Linked DNA regions of Homo sapiens: regions 1, 2, 3, 5 and 6 are each linked to region 4. The links are contacts of gene promoters, found by promoter capture Hi-C in blood cells and fetal thymus (Javierre and others, 2016). All regions are on one chromosome and are shown on one strand. The core of a region is centred on a gene start or on the middle of the fragment in contact, and the rest is flanking DNA. Distances in the headings are between cores, read along the strand shown. Region 1 overlaps GM2A (ganglioside GM2 activator). Region 2 overlaps TCOF1 (treacle ribosome biogenesis factor 1). Region 3 overlaps NDST1-AS1 (NDST1 antisense RNA 1). Region 4 holds the start of SMIM3 (small integral membrane protein 3). Region 5 has its middle 6.9 kb from the start of RPS14. Region 6 has its middle 5.1 kb from the start of NDST1.

The links. Contacts are between HindIII fragments. The CHiCAGO score rates a contact against its expected background, and 5 or more counts as called.
Region 1: a fragment that was not itself captured here is called in contact with the fragment with the promoter of SMIM3 in region 4 in 1 of 17 cell types (neutrophils); the score reaches 5.1 in neutrophils.
Region 2: a fragment that was not itself captured here is called in contact with the fragment with the promoter of SMIM3 in region 4 in 2 of 17 cell types (activated CD4 T cells and total CD4 T cells); the score reaches 7.0 in activated CD4 T cells.
Region 3: a fragment that was not itself captured here is called in contact with the fragment with the promoter of SMIM3 in region 4 in 2 of 17 cell types (megakaryocytes and M2 macrophages); the score reaches 5.0 in megakaryocytes.
Region 5: a contact is called between a fragment that was not itself captured here and the fragment with the promoter of SMIM3 in region 4, in 10 of 17 cell types (naive CD4 T cells, naive CD8 T cells, total CD4 T cells and 7 more). The highest score is 15.3, in naive CD4 T cells.
Region 6: a fragment that was not itself captured here is called in contact with the fragment with the promoter of SMIM3 in region 4 in 1 of 17 cell types (megakaryocytes); the score reaches 6.6 in megakaryocytes.

Annotation. Positions count from the first base shown.
Region 1 is chr5:151,259,112-151,262,853 of GRCh38, reverse strand. It overlaps GM2A (ganglioside GM2 activator), which reads right to left. Exons shown (of 4, transcript NM_000405.5): 2 at 2,938-3,099. Among named protein-coding and RNA genes, the nearest start is that of GM2A, 7.8 kb to the right of the region's middle. The HindIII fragment of the contact is 6,835 bases long and covers 1-3,742 here.
Region 2 is chr5:150,359,848-150,363,225 of GRCh38, reverse strand. It overlaps TCOF1 (treacle ribosome biogenesis factor 1), which reads right to left. Exons shown (of 27, transcript NM_001371623.1): 2 at 2,015-2,070. Among named protein-coding and RNA genes, the nearest start is that of TCOF1, 3.8 kb to the right of the region's middle. RefSeq lists a silencer at 458-597. The HindIII fragment of the contact is 1,216 bases long and covers 1,514-2,729 here.
Region 3 is chr5:150,477,777-150,481,425 of GRCh38, reverse strand. All of the region lies in intron 2 of NDST1-AS1 (NDST1 antisense RNA 1), which reads left to right. Among named protein-coding and RNA genes, the nearest start is that of NDST1-AS1, 6.4 kb to the left of the region's middle. The HindIII fragment of the contact is 7,537 bases long and covers 1-3,649 here.
Region 4 is chr5:150,776,803-150,780,078 of GRCh38, reverse strand. It overlaps SMIM3 (small integral membrane protein 3), which reads right to left and starts at 1,322. Exons shown (of 2, transcript NM_032947.5): 1 at 1,107-1,322. It overlaps LOC124901110, which reads left to right. Exons shown (of 2, transcript XM_047417995.1): 1 at 1-172; 2 at 528-3,276. The coding sequence starts at 958. The coding sequence ends at 1,599. RefSeq lists an enhancer at 1-800 and a silencer at 1,238-1,427. The HindIII fragment of the contact is 6,508 bases long and covers 1-2,952 here.
Region 5 is chr5:150,454,912-150,458,363 of GRCh38, reverse strand. No RefSeq gene overlaps it. Among named protein-coding and RNA genes, the nearest start is that of RPS14, 6.9 kb to the right of the region's middle. The HindIII fragment of the contact is 6,015 bases long and covers 1-3,452 here.
Region 6 is chr5:150,501,182-150,504,862 of GRCh38, reverse strand. It overlaps a transcript of NDST1 not described here. Among named protein-coding and RNA genes, the nearest start is that of NDST1, 5.1 kb to the left of the region's middle. RefSeq lists enhancers at 2,272-2,830, 2,831-3,391. The HindIII fragment of the contact is 3,713 bases long and covers 1-3,671 here.

The DNA of each region.
Region 1 (3,742 bases), core at 430-2,929, 480 kb before region 4:
CCCCTCCCTGGAAACACCAGTGGCTGCATGGTGATGGCAGCAGAGGGAGCATGGCGGACGGCCTACCAGGAGAGCCCACACTCCAGATCAGCAGAGGGAGCACACAAATAAATGTGTGTGACCCTGGCAGAGAAACAGTCCAGTGTCCATACATAGGGAATGATTCCATCCCTTGGCCCAGATCCAAGGGTACAGGGCTTGACCCCCTATCACTTGAGGAACAGTAATGGAAACACAATGACTCTGCTAGGAAAAGGCTTGGTAGGAGGTGCAGGGGAGCTGAAAGCTGCCACATATCCAGGACTTGTGTCTGGGTCAAGAGACTGCAGGATAAGACAGATACTAATCGAAATGTTCACAAGATATAAAATGTACTGAGCATGTCCTGGGTGCCAGGCCCTGTGCAAAGCACTTTCCACATGATTTTCTAACTCAGGTATTGCTCAAGGAAAGCCCATAACGTAGGAGCTGTGATTAAGACAGGTCTAAGGATAATGATAGAAACACAGAATCCAAATCAGGAATCTTCTAAATAATTAACACAAAACTGGTACTAGAATAGATCTGGATCAGGAACAGACTGAAGGGCATAGAGGAGCATCATATAAAGGTAGCAATTTTAGCTAGAGAGGAAAGGACCATATTAAATGGTGTTGCAATGGATATATGAAAAGTCTTCATTGTTTTCTAAGAAAATATAAAAACATACACCCCTAAAATAGTCAATGGATGGAAACAAACAGGTTATTCCCAAAGTAAATACAAAAGGCAAATAAACTTATGAATAGACATCTACGCTCACTAGGAATGATGCAGGTTTATTCAAACATTGGGAGGCACTTTGGCAAAATGTATCAAAAGACCTAAAAAGTGTGTATCTAGAGAATCAGAAAATTATAAAAAGATGTACTATAAGAATAATTTCTACAAAGGTGGTTACTACAGCAAAACAAAAAACAAACAAACAAAAAAAACCCTCTGGCCAGGTACAGTGGCTCAAGCCTATAATCCCAGCACTTTGGGAGGCTGAGGCAGGTGGATTGCCTGAGGTCAGGAGTTCAAGACCAGCCTGGATAACATGGTGAAACCCCATCTCTACTAAAAATACAAAAAGTAGCTGGGCATGGTGGCAGGTGTCTGTAATCCCAGCACTTTGGGAGGCCGAGGCAGGCACATTGCCTGAGGTCAGGAGTTCAAGACCAGCCTGGCCAACATGGTGAAACCCCATCTCTACTAAAAATACAAAAATTAGTGGGGCGCAATGGCAGGTGCCTGTAATCCCAGCACTTTGGGAGGCTGAGACAGGAGAATCGCTTGAACCCGGGAAGTGGAGGTTGCAGGGAGCTGAGATTGCGCTACTGCACTCCAGCCTAGGCAACAGAGTAAGAACCTGTCTCAAAACAAACAAATAAACAAACAAACAAATAAAAACTACCCTGGAAACAAACTAAATGTTCAACAATAGACTTGTTATATAAATTATGAAAGATCCACATCAGAATATTTCTGCCATTAAAAATGATTGGGTGGGCTGAGCAAGGTGGCTCACGCCTATAATCCCAACATTTTGAGAGTCTGAGGCAGGAGGATTGCTTGAACTCAGGAGTTTGAGACCAGCCTGGGCAACACAGGGAGGCTCCGTCTCCATAAAAAATAAAAAAATTAGGTAAGCATGGTGACATGAACCTGTGGTCCCAGCTACTCAGGAGGCTGAGGTGGGAGGATCCCTTAAGCCCAGGAGGTCAAGGCTGCAGTAAGCCATGATCACACTACTGCACTCCAGCCTGAGCAACAGAGTGACACACTGTCTCTAAAATTACAATACATTAAAATAATAAAATAATGATTGGATAAAAAAAAATTGAATAAGTAGAGCCACCTAATCCTTGGAAAGATATGGACATATAGTATGAGGCAAAAAAAATAGCAAGTATAATAGCACATATCATATAATCCCATGAGTATAAGTGTGTATATATTTACAAACACATAAAAATTCTGATGGGATATATAAAGAGCAAACACTGACTATCTCTAGGATTTAGATTACTGGAGGACATTTACAATGAGCACTGCCTATTATCATACATATCCATTAAAAATAAATATGTGTGTTATGTATGTAATTGTATGGGGGAAAGTTGCAAAGAATATCCTATAAGATGTTAAAAGTGCTTATCCCTTATCACTAGGTAGTGAGATTTCAAGTGATTTATTTTATTTATTTATTTATTTTGGGACAGAGTTTCACTCTGTCACCCAGGCTGGAGTGCAGTGGTGCGATCCTGGCTTTCTGCAACCTCTGCCTCTTGGGTTCCAGCAATTCTCCTACCTCAGCCTCCTGAGTAGCTAGGATTACAGGCACATGCCACCACGCCCAGCTAATTTTTGTACTTTTAGTAGAGATGGGGTTTCACTATGTTGGCCAGGCTGGTCTCAAACTCCTGACCTCAAAAGATCCACCCACCTCAGCCTCCCAAAGTGTTGGGATTACAGGCATGAGCCACCACACCTGGCCTATTTTATTTATTTTTTGACCACTTGTGTTTTCTAAAGTGACTATATATTACTGGCTAATTGGTATATCAATTTTATAATTAACAACAAAACCAAATTGGCCAACCAGAGCTGTCAGACAATAATGAGCAGTTGGCCACCAGGCCCAGAGAAGGCCAGGACGCTTCTGCCAGGTGCAAGGTATCCGTCACTCCTGCCCTCACCAGGAAGTTGCTGGCGCTGACATCAGAGATTCCTTTCAATCTTATGATCCTGAGATTCCATGAACCTGTGAAAGAGTGTCTGAATCTACATGTCCTGTACTATTCTCTGGGAATCCAGGATTCTGAAATTCTTCACAGTTCCCCAAGCATACATGCCCCAGTACCCCTGCTGGCCAGACCCTCGCACCTCCCCTTCTCCACCCACCCCCAGGCTCACCTTCAGAGGAGAACTCAGGGGGACACTGGTGCTGCCCATGACACTGAGGGTCACATTTCCAGGAACGATGATGGGGTCAGGCTCCAGAGTCAGGCTTCTGATCACCGCAGGGTCCTTCCCTTCATCACAGTTATCCCAGGAAAAGCTACTGAGCTGGGATGGCTGGGGACAATCAGGCAGCAAGGAAGGAGAAGAAGAAAAAGGTTGACAAAAGAAACTATCACAGATCACAGGAAAAATGAGCTCCTGGCAGAGTGACCTTGGGTGAGGCACCCCCGTCCCTGAGCCTCATCTATGAGACTCCATACCTATGAAGCTGGGATAACACTTATCCTACTCATTTTATAGGCAGGACTAAACTAAAAGACTCAAAAGACATAATCTCCCAAAAGTGTATTGTAAACTATAAGGCAGGATATGATAGACCTGGAACTTCCAAACAGGAGACTGACCTAATTGGCCTTTGGTGGGCACCTTCTCTGACTTCCCACCTCCCTGCTGCCCACTCCTCTCCAGCCAGCCTTGGAATCCCAGCAGAGGGCAAGCTCCTGGAGGATTCACCTCTGCAGCCCACACCCAGGACCTTGTTCATGTCACACCCCGTGCCCAACCCAGAGCCAGGAACAATGGGAAACACAAAACACAATGGGAAATCTAACAGCATCTGAAATCCCACTCTCAAGGGGCAGGTGATTAACTCAGAAAGGAATAGGACACTCATGAAAAGATCCCCAGTGGATCACTTGCTGATGAATAATCCCCAGTGGACTTCCCCAGTCCTAACCAGTGTCTTCTTCCCATCCCT
Region 2 (3,378 bases), core at 872-3,371, 420 kb after region 4:
TTTTCCCCCAACAAAAATGTTGAGCAGGGATTTTTCTCTGGTTTGTTCCCAGCTATATCAAGAATATTGCTGGGTTGTAGTAGATGCTTAATAAATACTGAGGCGGGTGCAGGAAGTCGGGGAGCCTCCAACCGGTAGTTTTAGCACTTTATATGGAGCACTGTGTCTAACCCTCACAATGCAATGAGATAATTGCCATCATTATTTTCATTTTATAGGTGAAGACAGACTCAGGGAGGCCAAGAAATCCACTCAAGGTCATACATACAGCTAGTTGCTGGGTTTGAACTCTGCAGGGAATTGCTAGGCTAGGCTGCCTTTCGTGGGTTTGAGGTCCTTGTCCCCCTCACCCATAGAAGGGGCCAGTGGCAGGGAAGAGTGTGCAGAGTAGCTCACTGAAGCAGTTTTTTGGGGGAAGGAAGTACTACGAATAACACCCACTCACCTGGGCAAGTCAGGGTGAGGAAGTGTGGGCTGTGCCCTGTGCTCTAAGCTCTCCTTAGCAGCAGAGGACTGAGGGTTGGCAGGGTTTTCAAAGACCTTAGCTCTCCACCAGAGGCTGTAATCCCTTCCACACCATTTTTGCCTTTGTTTACACACCTCTAATGACAGGGAGCCCACCACTTCCACCTAGCCCACCTCATTTTTAGATAGCTCTGATGTCATTATATTCAGAAGCTGAAACCTGTCTTCCTGAAGCAGGTACATTTGGGGCCCACTTCTGTCTCCGGGGCCTCAGAGAACGCACTATTCTTGGTCCTCAAAGATGTGCAGTGGTCCCTCACACCCCTCTCCTGCCTCCTTTCCATCCAAGGCAATTCAGTACTCTCTACCATTCCTCATGGGATATGTCTGCATGTCCTTCACTCCCTTAGTCAGCTGTGGTCAGGCCAGTGCATGAAGAGAACACAATTACTCTCTCCATTTTCCAACCATTCCTCTGTTGATATATCCTTGGATGATTCCCCCTTCCTTGAAGAGTACATAAATTTTACATGTTTAAAAGGCATCTCACACTCAACATGTCATTGAAATCTTTCCCCTCCAAACTGAGTTCCCTTCAAGCTCTATGCATGGGTACACAAGTTAGATGTGGAGTCAATAAGATACTTCCTCTCCCACCCATCCACAGGCCCTGGTTTCATCCCTATGATTCTTGGGAATCCACTTTCTACCCTGTTCTCCCTGTGTCAAGCCCCATCAGCTCTTGCCTGGACGATGGTGACCATGGCCCCACCAGTCTCACCATGGTGCAGAGCAATCTCCTCACTTTTTCACCCTACCATGGCCCCACTGCTCTTGGATAAAGACAAAATTCCTCACCATGGATAACCAGCCCATGCATGGCTATCCATGCGATGACCTAGCCCCATCTGTACTGTCCACCAGCCACAGGACTTAGCATTAGCAATTTCCACTGGCAGGTACACTCCACCTGCCACTCTCTACCCACTGCATAGTTCACTCCTCCAATTCCTATAGCTCTCAAGTCAAAGATCACCTCAGGGAAGCTTCCCCTGGACCCCCAGATGAAGCCAGACTTACCCATTTATGTGGCTGTGGCAACAGATTCCTCTCTTTTGTAATCCTTACTACCACTGTAATTTAACATTCATTTGTTTCATTCTTTGACTTATGCCTACCTCCTTGGCTACAATGTCAGCTGCAGGAAAGAAGGAACCATGTCTGTCTCACTTGTGACAATATTTGCATACTAAGTAAGAACAGGACTTGGCTTTCAGGAGGTGCTCAATATACGTTTGCTGAGCAACTGACAAGCTGGTGAGAAGCTCTTGTTCTTAAGAGATCACAGCTCTCAATGTCCCCTCCCACTACCAGATATCCACACAGAAATACCCATCCATGTGATGTGAGCTGGCTTTCTGGAGGCAACAATGGTGTCCACAGTGGGCTATGGGGACAGATCTTAGACCAGATAGGTATCCCAGCTTATTCCAAGCTGAGTTGCTTGGGGTGTCCGTCCCTACTCCACCCTATAGGCCCCACCACTTACTGTTGCCAGTGTGTATAGATGTCCAGAAGGGTTACGGGCTGAGCCAGGAAACACTTCTGCAGAGAGGTAAAGAGAAAGCCACAATTAATCCCCAGCACAGTAAGGATCCTTCTTGGGCCCAGATCTCCCCAAACTCATGACTTGTATAGACAGGTGGTTCAGAAGAGGGTCTTTTTGGCTGGGCATGGTGGCTCATACCTGTAATCTCAGCACTTTGGGAGGCTGAGGCAGGAAGATCACTTGAGCCCAGGAGTTCAAGACCAGTCTGGGCAACATAGTGAGACTGTCTCTATAAAAAAATTTAAAAATTAGCTGAGAATGGTGGCATGCACTGGTGGTCCCGGCTACTCAGGAGGCTGAGGTGGGAGGATCACTTGAGCCCAGGATATCGAGGCTGCAGTGAGCCATGCTTGTGCCACCGCACTCCAGCCTGGGCAACAGAGCAAGACCCTTTCTTTAAAAAAAAAAAAAAAAAAAAAGAGGGTCTTTTTGCTCTGGGAAGTATGTCTGCTTGGCCCTGCCAGTTCTGTCCCAAACCTTCCAGAGACAAGAAGAACAACCAATCCCAACTAAAACCTTTTTAGACAACCCCTTTGAAAGGCCAGAGGTGGAATGTTCCAAGCTAGCATTCATCCAGCTCCCAGCCTCTCTGGCACTATCCATGCCTAGAGGCCATGAGACAGGGTTTTCCCCACCTTTGACCTTTAAAAAAGCTTTCAAAGACGTGGCCAGCCAATCTTCCCAAAGCACGAATCACAGCCCAGACACCTGAGGCATCCAGGTGGCATGACCACAGTCTACTAGTCTGCTGGGAGAAGACTGGGCCCAAATGGTACCAGTCCCTTGGTGGAAGCAGAGGGAACCAGGTGGAATCCAGGCCTTTGGAGCAGAGGCCAGAGGGCCCAATGTCTCTGTAAATGTCAATAAGCCAGGATATCAAGTACTCTAATGAGGCTAAGCAATGTGGGGCACGGGTGGACTGAACTAATCTCGTCACGTCTTCGAACTTCAGATTTCTTCTTAACATGGGGACAACAGCGATACCTACCTTGCAGGCTGCTATCTGGTTTGAACAAGACCATCTGTCAGTGCCCAGCAGTGAGCCGGTAACACTAAGATTTCAAGAGTCAGTTTCCCTCTGCTCCACCTCAGGCAAAGTGTCCTCCTTGCTGTCCTCAAATGTGTCAGGCCACCCTGCCTCTAACGCGGCCTTGCTATTCTTCTTGTCTGGAATGTTCTCTCCCCTGTTAACTACACAGCTCACTCCCTCATTTCCTTCAGGTCTCTGCCCAAATGACACCTTCTCAATGAGACTTCCTTGACTACCCTACTTATAATCGAAGTCTGACATCCCTTATCCCCCT
Region 3 (3,649 bases), core at 716-3,215, 300 kb after region 4:
TCTTTTTGAGATGAAGTCTTGCTCTGTTGCCCAGGCTGGAGTGCAGAGCCGCGATCTTGGTTCACTGCAACCTCCACCTCCCGAGTTCAAGCAATTCTCTGCTTCAGCCTCCCGAGTAGCTGGGACTACAGGCACCTGCCACCATGCCCGGCTAATTTTTTTGTATCTTTAGTAGAGATGGGGTTTCACCATCTTAGCCAGGCTGGTCTTGAACTCCTTATCTTGTGATCCATCCGCCTCGGCCTCCCAAAGTGCTGGGATTACAGGTGTGAGTCACTGCACCTGGCCCTCTTCTTTATCACGACCACCCTAGTCCAAGCTGCACAGGTCTCTGCCGTGACCATGTTTACAGCCTCCTCACTGTGTCTCTCCCTCTCTCTGACTCTATTGCAACCTCATCATGACCATTTCCTAATTAAAACCACCAGAATGGCCCATAGTTCCCAGGATAAATTATTTGCCTTGTCTGCCTTATTGGCTCCACCGCCCTCCGCAGTATACTCCACCTTCCCCTTTACCTAATTTCCCATTTAGAGTAGGGATGCCATAATATGCCATGAAATTAGAGTTTAAAATAAAAAAATAAATAAAATAAAGTATGGACTCAAGCCAGGCTTCCTGGGTTTGAATCCTGACTCTGCCACATATAAACTATGTGACTTTGGGCCAGTTTTTCAAACTTTCTGTGGTCAGCCCTCCTCTCTAAAGTGTAGATAATAATAGTACAACATACCTCCCAGGGCTGTTGTGAGAATTACATAAGTTAAATATGTAAAGCCCTTAGTGTGTTATCTGTTATAGGACAAGCACTGTACAGTTACAGTTGTCCCTCAGTATCCATGGGGGAATGATTCCAGGACATTTCATGGATATCAAAATGTGTGGATATCCCTGATATAAAATGGCTTAATATTTGCATATAACCTATGTACATCCTCCCATATACTTTAAATCATCTCTAGATTACTTGTAATACCTAATACAATGTAAATTGTATGCAAAGAATTGCTATATTTTTTAGAGAATAATGACCCAAAAAAAGTCTGCACATGTTCAATACAGACAATTTTTTAAAATATGTTTTCGATCCATGGTCGGTCGAATCCACAGATTCAGAATCTGTGGGTATAGAGGGTTGACTGTTTAAATGTTAGATGAATGATTCATTGTGATCCTTTAGGTCTGAGATTTTTTTTTTTCTTTTTTTCTTTTTTCTTTTTTTCCTGCAGGCTGGAGTGCAGTGGTGTGATCACGGCTCCCTGCAGCCTTGACCTTCCAGGCTCAAGCAATCCTCCCACCTCAGCCTCCCAAGTAGCTCGGACTTCAGGCATATGCCACCAAGCCCAGCTAATTTTTAATTTTTTATAGAGACAGAGTTTCACCATGTTGCCCAGGCTGGTCTTGAACTCCTGAGCTCAAGCAATCTGCCTGTCTCTGCCTGCCTCGGCCTCCTAAAGTGCTGGGATTACCAGCCTTTTTTTTTTTTTTTTTTTTTTTTAAATGTGTCAGGCTCTCGCTGTGTCATCTGGGCTGAAGTACGGTGAGCAAGATCACAGCTTGCTGCAGCCTCAAACTCTTGCACTCAAGCAATCCTCCCATCTCAGCATCTCTAGTATCTGGGACCACAGGTACATGCCACCATCCCCAGCTATAAGTCTCCAATTAAACTTAATTTCCTCCTGGGCTTTTCCTCAGACCCTAATCCAAACCAGGCTTCCTGTATACACTTCACATCTCCCTCTTTATCACCCTCGTAGTTACCTGTCAGCTGCCACTCTCTCCCTCTAGATTGTGAGCTCCATGTGGGCAGGACTGTGTGTGTCTCAGACGCCCTGAGCCCCAGTGCCCCAAACAGCACCAGGCACATTGTAGGCAACCAGCACATACTTGCTGAATAAACAGATGAAATGAAAGTTCACAGGTTCATTATGAAACAGAGGACACTGTCTACCTAACAAAATGCCCATCAATGGTACTTCACTCTTCATTCAACAATTATTAGTGCCTCTTCTATAGTCTTCCTCACACCATCCTGGTGGCAGAAGGGAAATAGGGAGACACAGAGATGAATAAGATAGATGTGGTTCCTGTCCTCAAAGACTATACGGTCCACTGTGAGAAAGTGCCGTAATGCATAGGAAGATACAACGCAGTGTAACCACGTTGTTTTAGTCTGTAACAATTTTGTTTCCTAGGAGGCTGGGGCTGGTCTTTGGAACAATGAAAGTGAAAAGTAACTGAAAACAAACACTGTTGCCTACTTCAGCCAGCACCACCAGTTCCCAGCAAGCTACTTTTCTGTCTCTCTCCCTCCCTCCCTCCCTTCTTCCTTTCTTTCTTTTTTTAACAGGGTCTTGTTCTGTGGCCAAGGTTGGAGTGCAGTGGTGTGATCATGGCCCACTGCAGCCTGGACCTCCCAGGCTCAAGCAATCCTCCCACATCAGCCACCTGAGTAGCTGGAATTACAGGCACGTGCCACCTAATTTAAAAAGAAAAATTTTGCAGAGGCTGGGCACAGTGGCTGAGCTGAGGCAGGAGGATCACTTGAGCCCAGGAGTTCAAGACCAGCCTGGGTAACATAGGGAGATCCCGTCTCTACATACATACATACTCTAGGCATAGTGTTGTGCGCCTGTGGTCCCAGGTACTTGAGAGGCTGAGGTAGGAGGATCACTTGAGCCTGGAAGATCGAGGCTGCAGTGAGCCATGATGACATCACTGCACTCTAGCCTGGGTAACAGGGTGAGACCTTGTCTCTTAAAAAAAAAAGAATTGCCGGGTGCAGTGTCTAATGCCTATAATCCCAGAACTTTGGGAGGCCAAGGCGGGCGGATCACCTGAGGTCAGGAGTTCAAGACCAGCCTGGCCAACATGGTGAAACCTGGTCTCTACTAAAAATACAAAAATTAGCCAGGCATGGTGACGCACGTATGTAATCCCAGCTACTCGGGAGGCTGAGGCAAGAGAATCGCTTGAACCTGGGAGGCAGAGGTTGCGGTGAGCCGAGATTGCGCCACTGCACTCCAGCCTGGGTGACAGAGCAAGACTCCATCCGTTTCAAAAAAAAAAAAAAAAGTCCAGGCGCGGTGGCTCACGCCTGTAATCCCAGCTCTTTGGGAGGCCGAGGCGGGTGAATCACGAGGTCAGGAGTTCGAGACCAGCCTGGCCAACATGGTGAAACCCCATCTCTATTAAAAATACAAAAAAAAAAATTAGCCGGGCATGGTGGCGGGTGCCTGTAATCCCAGCTACTTGGGAGGCTGACGCAGGAGAATCGCTTGAACCTGGGAGGCGGAGGTTGCAGTGAGCTGAATTCACGCCACTGCACTCCAGCCTGGGCAACAAGAGCGAAACTCTGTCTCAAAAAAAAAAAAAAAAATTGTAGATACAGGGTCTCCCTATGTTGCCCAGGCTGGTCTTGAGCTCCCCAGCTCAAGTGATCCTCCCACCTTGGCCTCCCAAAGTGCTGAGATTATAGGCGTGAGCCACCACACCCGGCCAGTGCTGTCTTTAGAGCAGGAAGAGTAAGTCCTGTCCCAAGGGCATCCAGGCCACCACCTTTTTCTCTGCCTGGAAACCTATTTAGCCTTCAAGGTCCCACTTAAGTAGCGCTTGGTCCAGGAAACCTTCTTGCTCCTGCTAGAGGTCT
Region 4 (3,276 bases), core at 73-2,572:
TCATAGCAGATGTTCAAGGAATCTCTGATACTTGTGTGATTGCGCAGCCTTCACCACCACACCCTGGAGCTTTGAGGACCTTAGTATTCACCACAGATGAACCGGAGACTCCTCAGCCCCCAGGTGCAGCAGGATTCCAGCTGGTCCAGAAGAAACAAGTGCAGCTGCATAAGTAAGAGCCCAGCCTGGCCCTCAATCAGAATAACAGCCCCTGAGGTTTGTTTCAATTTGTGGGGGGGGCGGGGGGGGTTACACCTTTCATCCTTTCACTCAGTACATATGTATGGAGCACCTACTGTTAGCCAGGCCCTGCTCCAAGAGCTGAGAATGCCTCAGAGATGACGATAGACAGGCAGTCCCTACCCTCAAGAAACTGGCATGGGGGAGACTAGGGAGCAAAACAACCAGCAACTGGAACAACTACGTCCTCAGGAAAGGGACAGCTAACCAGCAGGAGGGAGCTTGAAGGAAGCCTTCTCTCCAAGATACTTTGCTCATGTCCTTTCTCCTTTGCTTTCTGCACGCAGAAAATGTTTTCCCAATTTCACTGATGGAAAAACAAGGATGGTGAAGCAGTTAGTGACAGAACCAGGGCTGGAACCCGCCACTCCTGACTCCAAACTCCTGGCGCCTTCTACACGGGGCCTCGAGAAAAGCGGGACAGGTAAGTGCAAAGACCCAAACCCAGCGCAGCGCCCAAGCAGGTGCTCAGGCCCGGGCGCTGAACCCTGACGCTGGGCCTGGAGAGCCAGGAGGTGGCAGTCTGCCCGAGGAGGAGGCTTCCCGAGAAGGCAAGGGCAGCGGACCCGGAGAGAAGCCAGTCTCCGAGTGGGGCTGGGGTTCGCCCACCCAAGCTCCGCCTCCCCCAGGCCCAAAATTCTGTGCACTAGGAGGCTCGAACTTAAGAGCTGACAGCAGGAGAAAAAGGAGGGGGTGAGGGCAAGAAATACAAAAGTGATGAAAAGGGAGAAATGGGGAGGAGAGACCGGACATAAAGAAGAACGTTGGGAGCCCGGGGAAAGGGGCCGCACTAGAGGTAGGTCGCGAATCCGAAGAGCTCCGCTCTGCCAGAGCCCCACAAACAATCCCCCGGTGGCCCCACTCACCCCAGATGGCGGCGAGTCTGCGGAAAGTTCCTGGGTCAGGGATGGCTCGGTGCTTCTCAGGGTCCCCAGGACTGCACGGGATCTGGCAGCTGGAAGCGACCCCCAGGCCTGGAACCTCAGCCCTAGGCAGCTCCTGGAACGTGCCCCGGCTCCTCCGAGCCCCGGGAGGCGGGAGAGCGCAGGAGCGGCCAGGACGCGCTGCTGGCTCTGGAATGCGCGGCTGCTGGGGACCGCCCCCGGAACGCCCGGTCCCGGGGCCCCGGCAACTCCAGCTCAGCTCCTCCTCCAGCGTCCCCTGCGGGCTGCGTTCGGGGAGAAAGGAACCTGCGAGAGAAGGGAGAGACCAGGGCGTCTCGGGCTCCCCTTCCACGTTGCCACACACTCGCCGCGTAGCCGTGGACATGTCGCTTGGCTTCTGAGGGTCTCCCCTCTCTGGATTGTAAACCGAGAGGGTTGGCCTAAAATGTGTCCTCCACGACCTTTCCAGCTATAGAGTAGACATGGGAAAGAAAGCCTAGCAAGTAGGTTTGGACAGAGGAGCCGGGACTCAGATCCTGCTTTGCGATGTCCGAAGTGTAGGGTCCTTCGGAGGCTTTGCCACTCTGTTTCATTCTCTGTAAAGTGGGAAAGGTAACACCTGTCTCCCAGTCCTGTTGTGAGGATTGGTTTAGAGGACCAGTGTGAAGCTGGTTGGTTCTCTGCCATAACATGACTTGGAGCATCCTGTTTATTTTGTGATAACAATGAAATAGCCCAATCCAAGGTGATCAAGAGCCCATTAGAATCCAGCATCTGAGAGGCTTCCCACGCCACTGTGGGTGGCCCAGCTTCCACGCAGGACAATGCCAATTCTGTAATCTTCTGCCCCCTCTATGTCATCCATGGAGTGAGGGGGGACTCCCGTCCCATGTTGGCACCCACACTTTTTAATTCACAGTGGTTTTCTTTAATCTTACTCTTCTGAAAAAAAGGAGCACAAGCCTTGACTATCAGTGAGACCTTGAGCAGTCTTGGAGCCCAGTAGTGTTTTGGAGGGTTTGGAAAGAGCCATACTGCCTTCCCCAGGCCTAAATTTGATATGGTGTGGGCCCCGAACTTAGAACTTACTCCATGCTGTTTCCTCTGATTCAGGGATGAGGTCAGCAGAAATGACCTCTAAATCATCATTATCACACGCCAGTTTCTTAAGGGAAGGACAGTGAGGATGAAGGGGATTCACATGAGAAATGATTTGAGAAAAACCCTAAGGGCTGTCACCCAACAACATGTTTTATTCAAAAGAGATAGTGTGGGAACCTAAAAACAAGGACAACCCAATTCTGAATAGTTTAATACAAAGCTCTCATTTAATAGTAAAAAAAGATTGAAGGAGGACAATCTTTTTTTTTTTTTTTTTTTTTTTTGAGACGGAGTCTCGCTCTGTCGCCCAGGCTGGAGTGCAGTGGCATGATCTCGGCTCACTGCAACAGGAGGACAATCTTAATATGACATTTTCCCTGGTTAGTGAAGGGGATGAGAGTTCCTTTGGGTGGACAACTGGTAACTCCATGTGCCCTGCTGTGAACATTGGCTTCCCTCTGGGACAAGGCAGAAGCTCAGGCCTGGAGCCAGCTGAGTCCTAGTCTCCCTTTCCATTTAGCAATTTATTAGTATCTCTTTAATATCGACTTGCCCTGGGACCCTAAAAGCAAGCCAGAAATAAAGTATGAATCCCCACAGGAGCATACCATGTTAAGTCTGCTGCCTAGGCTAGACTGATTTTGCAAAGAGAGCACTGAAGGGAAGAATAATGGATGCTGTGTTGGGATGCAGGAGTGGGGGAAATAGTCAATTTCAGCAACAAGCTTTTGTTACAGCAAAAGCCAGAAAACAGCTCACAACTTCCTTGGTCCTCTATTACAACCACTCCAAAGAGAAAACCATCAGGACCTGAAAGAAATAAGTAATACTCTCTTAGAGAGCCCCTGATACTTTGGGGAACTTGTACAGAAGAAGTTGTAGTCTAATGACATTGGCTGCCATCAAAAGACGGCCTTGGCCAGGGGCAGTGGCTCATGCCTGTAATCCCAGTACTTTGGGAGGCCGAGGCGGGCAGATCACCTGAGGTCAGGAGTTCGAAACCAGCCTGGCCAACATGGTGAAACCCTGTATCTACTAAAAACACAAAAAT
Region 5 (3,452 bases), core at 835-3,334, 320 kb after region 4:
GTTTTCTCCCACCCTCTTCTTCCTGTCCTGGCTGTCTCCTACTCCCATTTTGGGCCCTCCAGCAAGGCCCCTGAGCAAGCCAGAGCCCTCCGTATCCCCCGTTCCTTACTTTGTCCTTGTTTCTTGCCCATATTCCCTGCTAGACAAAGCCCCTTGGCAGCAGGCCGTGACACGGTCACTGTGTGGCGAGTGCTGAGATGACAGGTCCTGGGGCACACAGGGGCTCCCATCAGTTGCTCGCAGACCGCGTGTGAGTCCTGTGAGCACGGGGAGCAGGTGAATTACAGCCCTGGAGGACGAAGCCTGCCGGTCTCTAGAGGGGCATTGCTACAGAGGGAGCCATCTCCAGGCCTTTTGTAGCCCCTCCTCCCCTGGACCCTGGAGGGTGTGCACCTGGCCTAATCCCCAACACACACACCGCCGCTCTCCCTTGTGTGCCACACTTACACACGCAGACTAGCGCTCATGTGTGTTCTGGGGCTCAGACCAGCAATAGACCCATGACTCCACGACAGCTTCACAGCAGCCAACACTTTTGAGAAGGTCCTCCCTCCAAGTCCCAGGACCACCTGGGCCACAGTTGGTGTCTGATTCCTGGCTGTGTGTCCTGGTGAGCAAACTCACCCTCTCTGAGCCACAGCTTCTTCCCACCCTTCCTCTGTTGCATTTGCAAACTACCCTTCAAGGGGAGGAGGGGATAGAGCTCCTGGACAAATGACAGTATGAGCTGCTGCCGAGAATGGGGAGCACGGGGCCTTCCAGGTTGAGCTTGAGGACCCAGGAAAGGGCTTGGCTTCTGCTGCTGCAGGCTAATTCCTTGCTCTTCCTTCATCCAATCAACAGATATTTACAAAACACCTGTACCTGAGGTTACACGAATTGGGCTCTGGAGTCAGACTGCTTGGGCCCAGATCCTGGTGCCCCACTTAGAGCTGTTGACCTTTTCCTTGTGTCCTCAGTTATAACGGGGGGGATTAAACATTTTCTACCTCCTGTGGTTGTTGAGAGGAAGCTGCTTGCTTTCCACTTCCGGAATGAGAACTTTCTCCAGCTCCTGCTGCCACATTTGCCCCCACCGTCTTCCTTCCTCATTAGCACCTGAGGTGAGCTGTCCACATTCCTGCCTAAAGCCGATGCCTCCACATGCGCAGCAGAGGCCTTTACCTATTGCCTGCTCAATGTCAGGGCTCCAGCATGTTTTTCCTTCACTTCTAGACTATTCCCAGCAGTGTTAAAATATCTGTTATTGATGCAACCTTAAAAAAGGAAAAAAAAGAACCTCTTGATCTCACATTCCCATTCTCCATCTGCCCCCTGGCACACCTCTGCAGAAAAACTCAAGAGCTGTCTATGAAGGAACTGGGCATGGTGGCTCACACCTGTAATCCCAGCATTTTGGAAGGCCGAGGTGGGAGGACCACTTGAGCCCAGGAGGTCAAGACCAACCTGGGCAACTTAGGGAGACTCAGTATTTAAAGAAAAATGAGGGCCAGGCACGGTGGCTCATGCCTGTAATCCTAGCACTTTGGGAGGCCGAGGCGGGCGAATCACTTGAGGTCAGGAATTCGAGACCAGCCTGGCCAACATGGTGAAACCTCATCTCTACTAAAAATACAAAAATTAGCCAGGTGTGTGGTGCAAACCTCTAATCCCAGCTATACGGAGGCTGAGGCATGAAAATCGCTTGAACCTGGGAGGCAGAGGTTGCACTCAAGCCTGGGCAACAGAGTGAGACTCTGTCTCAAAAATAACAAAATTTTAAAAATTAAAAAAATAATAATAATTGGGCCAGGCATGCTGGCTCACACCTGTAATCCCAGCACTTTGGGAGGCCAAGGTGGGCAGATCATGAGGTCAAGAAATTGAGACCATCCTGGCCAACATGGTGAAACCCCTTCTCTACTAAAAATACAAAAATTAGCTGGGTGTGGTGGCGTGTGCCTGTAATCCCAGCTACTCAGGAGGCTGAGGCACGGGAATTACTTGAACCCAGGAGGTGGAGATTGCAGTGAGCTGAGATCACACCACTGCACTCCAGCCTGGTAACAGAGAGGGACTCTATCTTAAAATAAATAAATAAATAAATAAATAAATAAATAAATATTGGAAAGAGCTGTCCAAGAGGTGTGGACCTCCCTCTCTTACTCCATTCACACTTTTGCACTCCCCCCACCCAGCCCCCCAATCAAGCTGCTGTTGTCAAAGTCCCCAGTATTTCATGTTGCTACATCCAACGGTCATCCTTAGCCCTTGTTATCCTTGACCTCTAAGCGCGATGGCACAGGTGCACACTCCCTTCTGCTTGATTGCATTTCTCCAGTTGCCTTCTGGATGTGCCCTCTCCTGGTCTCCTTTCATTTCTGTTCATGGCTTATTTTCTTGGCTCTCTCCTTCTCTTATCCCCATGCTCTCAACGCTCAGTCCTTAGCCTCTTCTTTATCTACACTCAGCCCCTTGGCGGGACTCGTGATTAAAATCAGTCTTGTGATTTTAAATACCATCTGTATGCTGGAGACTCCCAAATTTACACCTCCAGCCCTGATCCACTTCTCAATTCCAGATTCATCTATCTCAGCTGTCATTCTGACAGCTCCACTCGGGTATGTAATAAACAGCTCAAACTCAGGCCTACGAGTGGGCATCTGATCTTCCCCTAAAAACCTCCTCCACCCTCTGCCTTCCCTACCCCAGCTGAGGGCAACTCCATCCTTCTGGTTCCTCCAGCCATAAATGCTAGAATCATCTTTGACAACACTCTTTTCCCATGCCCCATGTCTAGTTTAATCTATCAGTAAATCCTGTTGGATCCATTTTCTCATTTTCTTTTCTTTTTCTTTTTTTTTTTTTTTTTTTTTGAGACAGAGTCTCACTCTGTCACCCAGGCTGGAGTGCAGTGGTACGATTTCAATCTCTGCCTCCTGGGTTCCAGCGATTCTCATGCCTCAGCCTCCCGAGTAGCTGGGAGTATGGGTGCGCGCTACCATGCCCAGATAATTTTTGTATTTTTTGTAGAGATGGGGTTTTGCCATGTTAGCTAGGCTGATCTCGAACTCCTGACCTCAATTGATCCACCCACCTTGGCCTCCCAAAGTGCTGGGATTATAGGCGTGAGCCACTGCACTCGGCCACCATTTTCACTTGATCTTAGCCAAAAGGCCGAGAAGCTATCGGACCCCATTTTCAAAATAAAACCAAATATTAGCGACTTCTTTCTACCTCTACTGATGCCTCCTCCGTCTTAGCTACCAATGTCTTTCACTTGCTTTATTGCAAAAGCCTCCTAACCGTCATCCCTGCTTCTACTTTTGCCCCTCACCCCACCCCACAGAGCACCCAGAGTGCACCTATTAAAACAGAAGTCAGTTCTGTCACCCTCTGCTTAAAACCTTCCAGTGGCTCCACTCAGTAAAAGCCAATGAACTCTAAGGCCTACATGGTCTACACAATCTCTC
Region 6 (3,681 bases), core at 566-3,065, 280 kb after region 4:
CTGATGGGCCTTTGGGACAATGATGACCATTTCTGAGAGTTTACTTGGTACCAGGTGTTGTACTCTGCATTTCACACGTTATCCCATTTAACTGTCCTGACATTCCTATCAACTAAGTATTGCTACTGTTTTCATTTCACAAAGACAGCAGCTCAGAAAAGTAGGGTATCATGCCCAAGGTCACCAGGCCAGGAAGGGGCAGAGCTGGCATCCAAACAGAGTTCAGACTGGCTCCAGAGCCTGGGGCCTAAACCTCATGCTGCACAGCTCTGTCGGGGAGACTCTGTCACGGGCAGTCAGTGGAGGGGACAGGAGGTAGACACATCAAATAGTGTGTGCATCTGGCAGATTATGGCAAGATTACGATAATGGAGGACAAACAAAGCTCTTAGGGAGCCCACAAGAGGGAGGTTGTTACAAACGTCCAGGCAGAAGGCCAGGAGTCTGTGCAGAGGACACGGAAACAGAGGGGAGTGGCAGATATGAGGGAGGCGGCCTTGTGAGACCTTGGTCAAGTGCCTTGCTCTCTCCAGACCTCAATTTACCAAGCTGTTAAGAAAAGTCCTTGGAACATCTCCAGAACCCCCACCATCCCTGAAGACTCCTGGGCCCTGGGAAAATAAGCAATGCCCGGTGACAGCCTGGCTATGAGCCCTGGGGACTCTGAAATGTCCTTGGCTGTCCTGGCACAGCTCAACTGCTGGGAAACAGGCTTGCAGAAGCAGAGGGCTTGGCTGGCATGCCTGGGCACCAGTGAAGTGTGGGTTCTGAAGGGGCCACATTCCACCCATTGTCAACCTCTCCACGGCTCTGCTGGAGCAAGCACCACCCAGCCTGGATGCAGACCAGAAACCGAGGTCACTCCCAGTGTCCAGTGGACTGCCACTCCAGGATCCGCCTGACCCATCAGCCCTGTCCAGAGCCCTACCTACACGTAAATTAAGTCCCTTTGATGTCACACACCCCCAAAGCCCTTCCCTCACATTTCCCTAAGGCTAGCCACTGGGATATAGAGACAAGGGGTCCTATAGGAGGCCTTAAGGAAAATGACCACCCCACCCCAAGGGACCTGTGCAAAACAGAGGCTGCCCATGCCAAGCCAATGAAGACCCTTGGCTAGGGAAAGGAAGATGGTCCATTAGGGCCGGCCCGCAGCTCTCACTCTGGAAGGTGGAAGGGGCTCTTGGACTTGCTAAGAAAACTCAGCCCAAGTCTCCACACTCACAGCTGCCCCATCAAACCACATGCCTGGCATGCTCCTATTCAATAACCTCCCACGGTTCCTCCCACTCACTAGGCCAAGCCCCTTACCTGCCTGCCTGCATGGGTCACTGTGAGCAGAGGCCTTGGTTTACTAGGTGTGCTATATGCCAGGGCCTTGCTAAGTGCTTTATTTTTTTGTTTGTTTATTTTTTTGAGACAGAATTTCACTCTTGTTGCCCAGGCTGGAGTGCAATGGCACAATCTCGGCTCACCACAAGCAACCTCCACCTCCCAGGTACAAATGATTCTCCTGCCCCAGCCTCCTGAGTAGCTGGGATTATAGGTGTGTGCCACCGTGTCTGGCTAATTTTGTATTTTTAGTAGAGACGGGGTTTCTCCATATTGGTCAGGCTGGTCTCGAACTCCTGACCTCAGGTGATCCACCAGCCTCAGCCTCCCAAAGTGCTGGGATTACAGGCACGAGTCACTGCACCTGGCACTAAGTGCTTTATGGACATTTCCTCATTCAACCTCACAGTAACCCTGTGAGGCAGGTACTATCACTGGCCCATTTCTACAGATGAGAAAATTGAGGCTCAGAGAGGTTATGTTACTCGTCCACAGTCTCACAGCCAAGCAGCAGGCAAGGATTCATGCCCATGCCTGCCTGACCCCAAGCCCAGATTCTTAACCACTGTGCCATGTGGCCTCCTCAAATGCTCCCTGCCACCCTCAGAACCCTGGGGCCACCTCAACCCTTCTCCATACAGGAGGGGAAACCAAGGCAAAGAGCTCTGTTGGTAGCAGAGCCAGGATAAGGCCTGAACCTCCACCCCACCCTTCCGCCCCCAACCTTGCCTACCCCAGAAGGAACTCCCTGTCAGGAGGCATGCCAGGCAGAAAGGCTAGGACCATCACAGTGACAATGAGGCTTCAGAATCTGCCTTTTTCCTCGTCCAAAAGGAAGAGAAAAGCAGAGGGAGGTTTGCAGAGAGAGAAAAGGACATGAAGGGACCAGGAAACATTTGTTCTCACAGAACAGACTCCTAGCATTGGGGCCCCTCACACAACCCCTGTTGCTGTTCCTGACAGCAACAGGAACATGCAGGACCCAGCACCCATGTGCACCATGCCCCTCCCCCACCAGCATAGGCCCCACCCCAGCACAGCTGACCCCAAATCTTAATTGCTCTTCCCAAACCTGCTTGTCCCACAGCCTTCTCTGTCTTGGTAAATAGCAATACTGTCCAACTGTCCTTCCAGTTCCTCAAGCCAGAAACCTTGCGGTCAACACTCTATTCTCACACCCCACATCTAATCCATCAGCAAATCCCATCAGCTCATCCTGCAAAATAAATCCAGAACCAACCCCTGGTTGCTCCCCCGCCGTCCCCACCCACCACTGACTCGCCCAACCTCTCTCGTGGCAAGACTGCAGCAGCCTCCCAGCTAGTCATCCTGCGTCCACCCTCACCCCCAGCAGTCTCTCTAAAATGTGTACCCAAACCAGTCAGTCCTCACATCGGGCCCGCCAGCAGCTTCCCCTCCACTCAGACTCAAACAACAAAGTCCTCCCCATGGCCAAGAGGCCCTACCTGTCTCCACATGCCCTCTGGCCCCTCTCCTCCACCATCCTCTCATTCTTTCAGCCCTGCCTCTGGCCACCCATGCCCTCCAGTTCCAGCGCCTTTGCCCTGCAGCTCCCTCTGCCTGGAAAATTCTTCCCTCAATTTCCCGTGGGCCACCCTCCCGGAGTCTACTGCCCCTCACCAGGGACCATCCTGACCACCTGACATGGCTGGGTCACTCCCCCAAATCACACTCTTGACCCACAAGCCAGTTTTATTTTTCTTCCAGGCACATCTCACCACCTGACAGTGAGCTTGTTGGGCTGTTCATTTCATCCCACCACTCAAATGTCAGCCCCACGTCCAAAACAGGGTCTCCATGTGTTTTGTTCACTGCTGCATCCCAGTTCTAGAAAAGAGCCTGGACCAAAGTAGATGTTTAATACAAATATACTGAATGAGGGACTATTGTCTCCCTCATCTGAACACACAACTTTAGGCTTACACAGCCCCTACAGACCAGGGGCTAGAGGCTGATACAAGACTCAACCTGGGCCAGCTAAAACCCTGAGGGTTTTCGCCTGGCCAGTTCCCAGCCAAATTCCCAGTCCTGTTCTAGTCCAATTGACTGCTTGGACCAATGGATGACAAGACTTTACGTTTGTCCCTGTCCGGTGCCTTTTCCTCTCCTTTTGGCCATGAGGGAGAACTTCTGAGTCCTGACAGTTGGGCTGCCAGAGGGAATGTGGACTGGACCGCCGCCACCCACCTTCATGGCCTTTCCAGCATCCATCCAAGGCTGCCTACCCCATGCTCCCAGCAAGAGGAGGCAGAGGAGGGAGGCTGGTGCTACGCTTGCCCTTTTCCTGTGGTCAGCAGGAGGACTATCAGAAGGAAGCTTTGTTCTCAG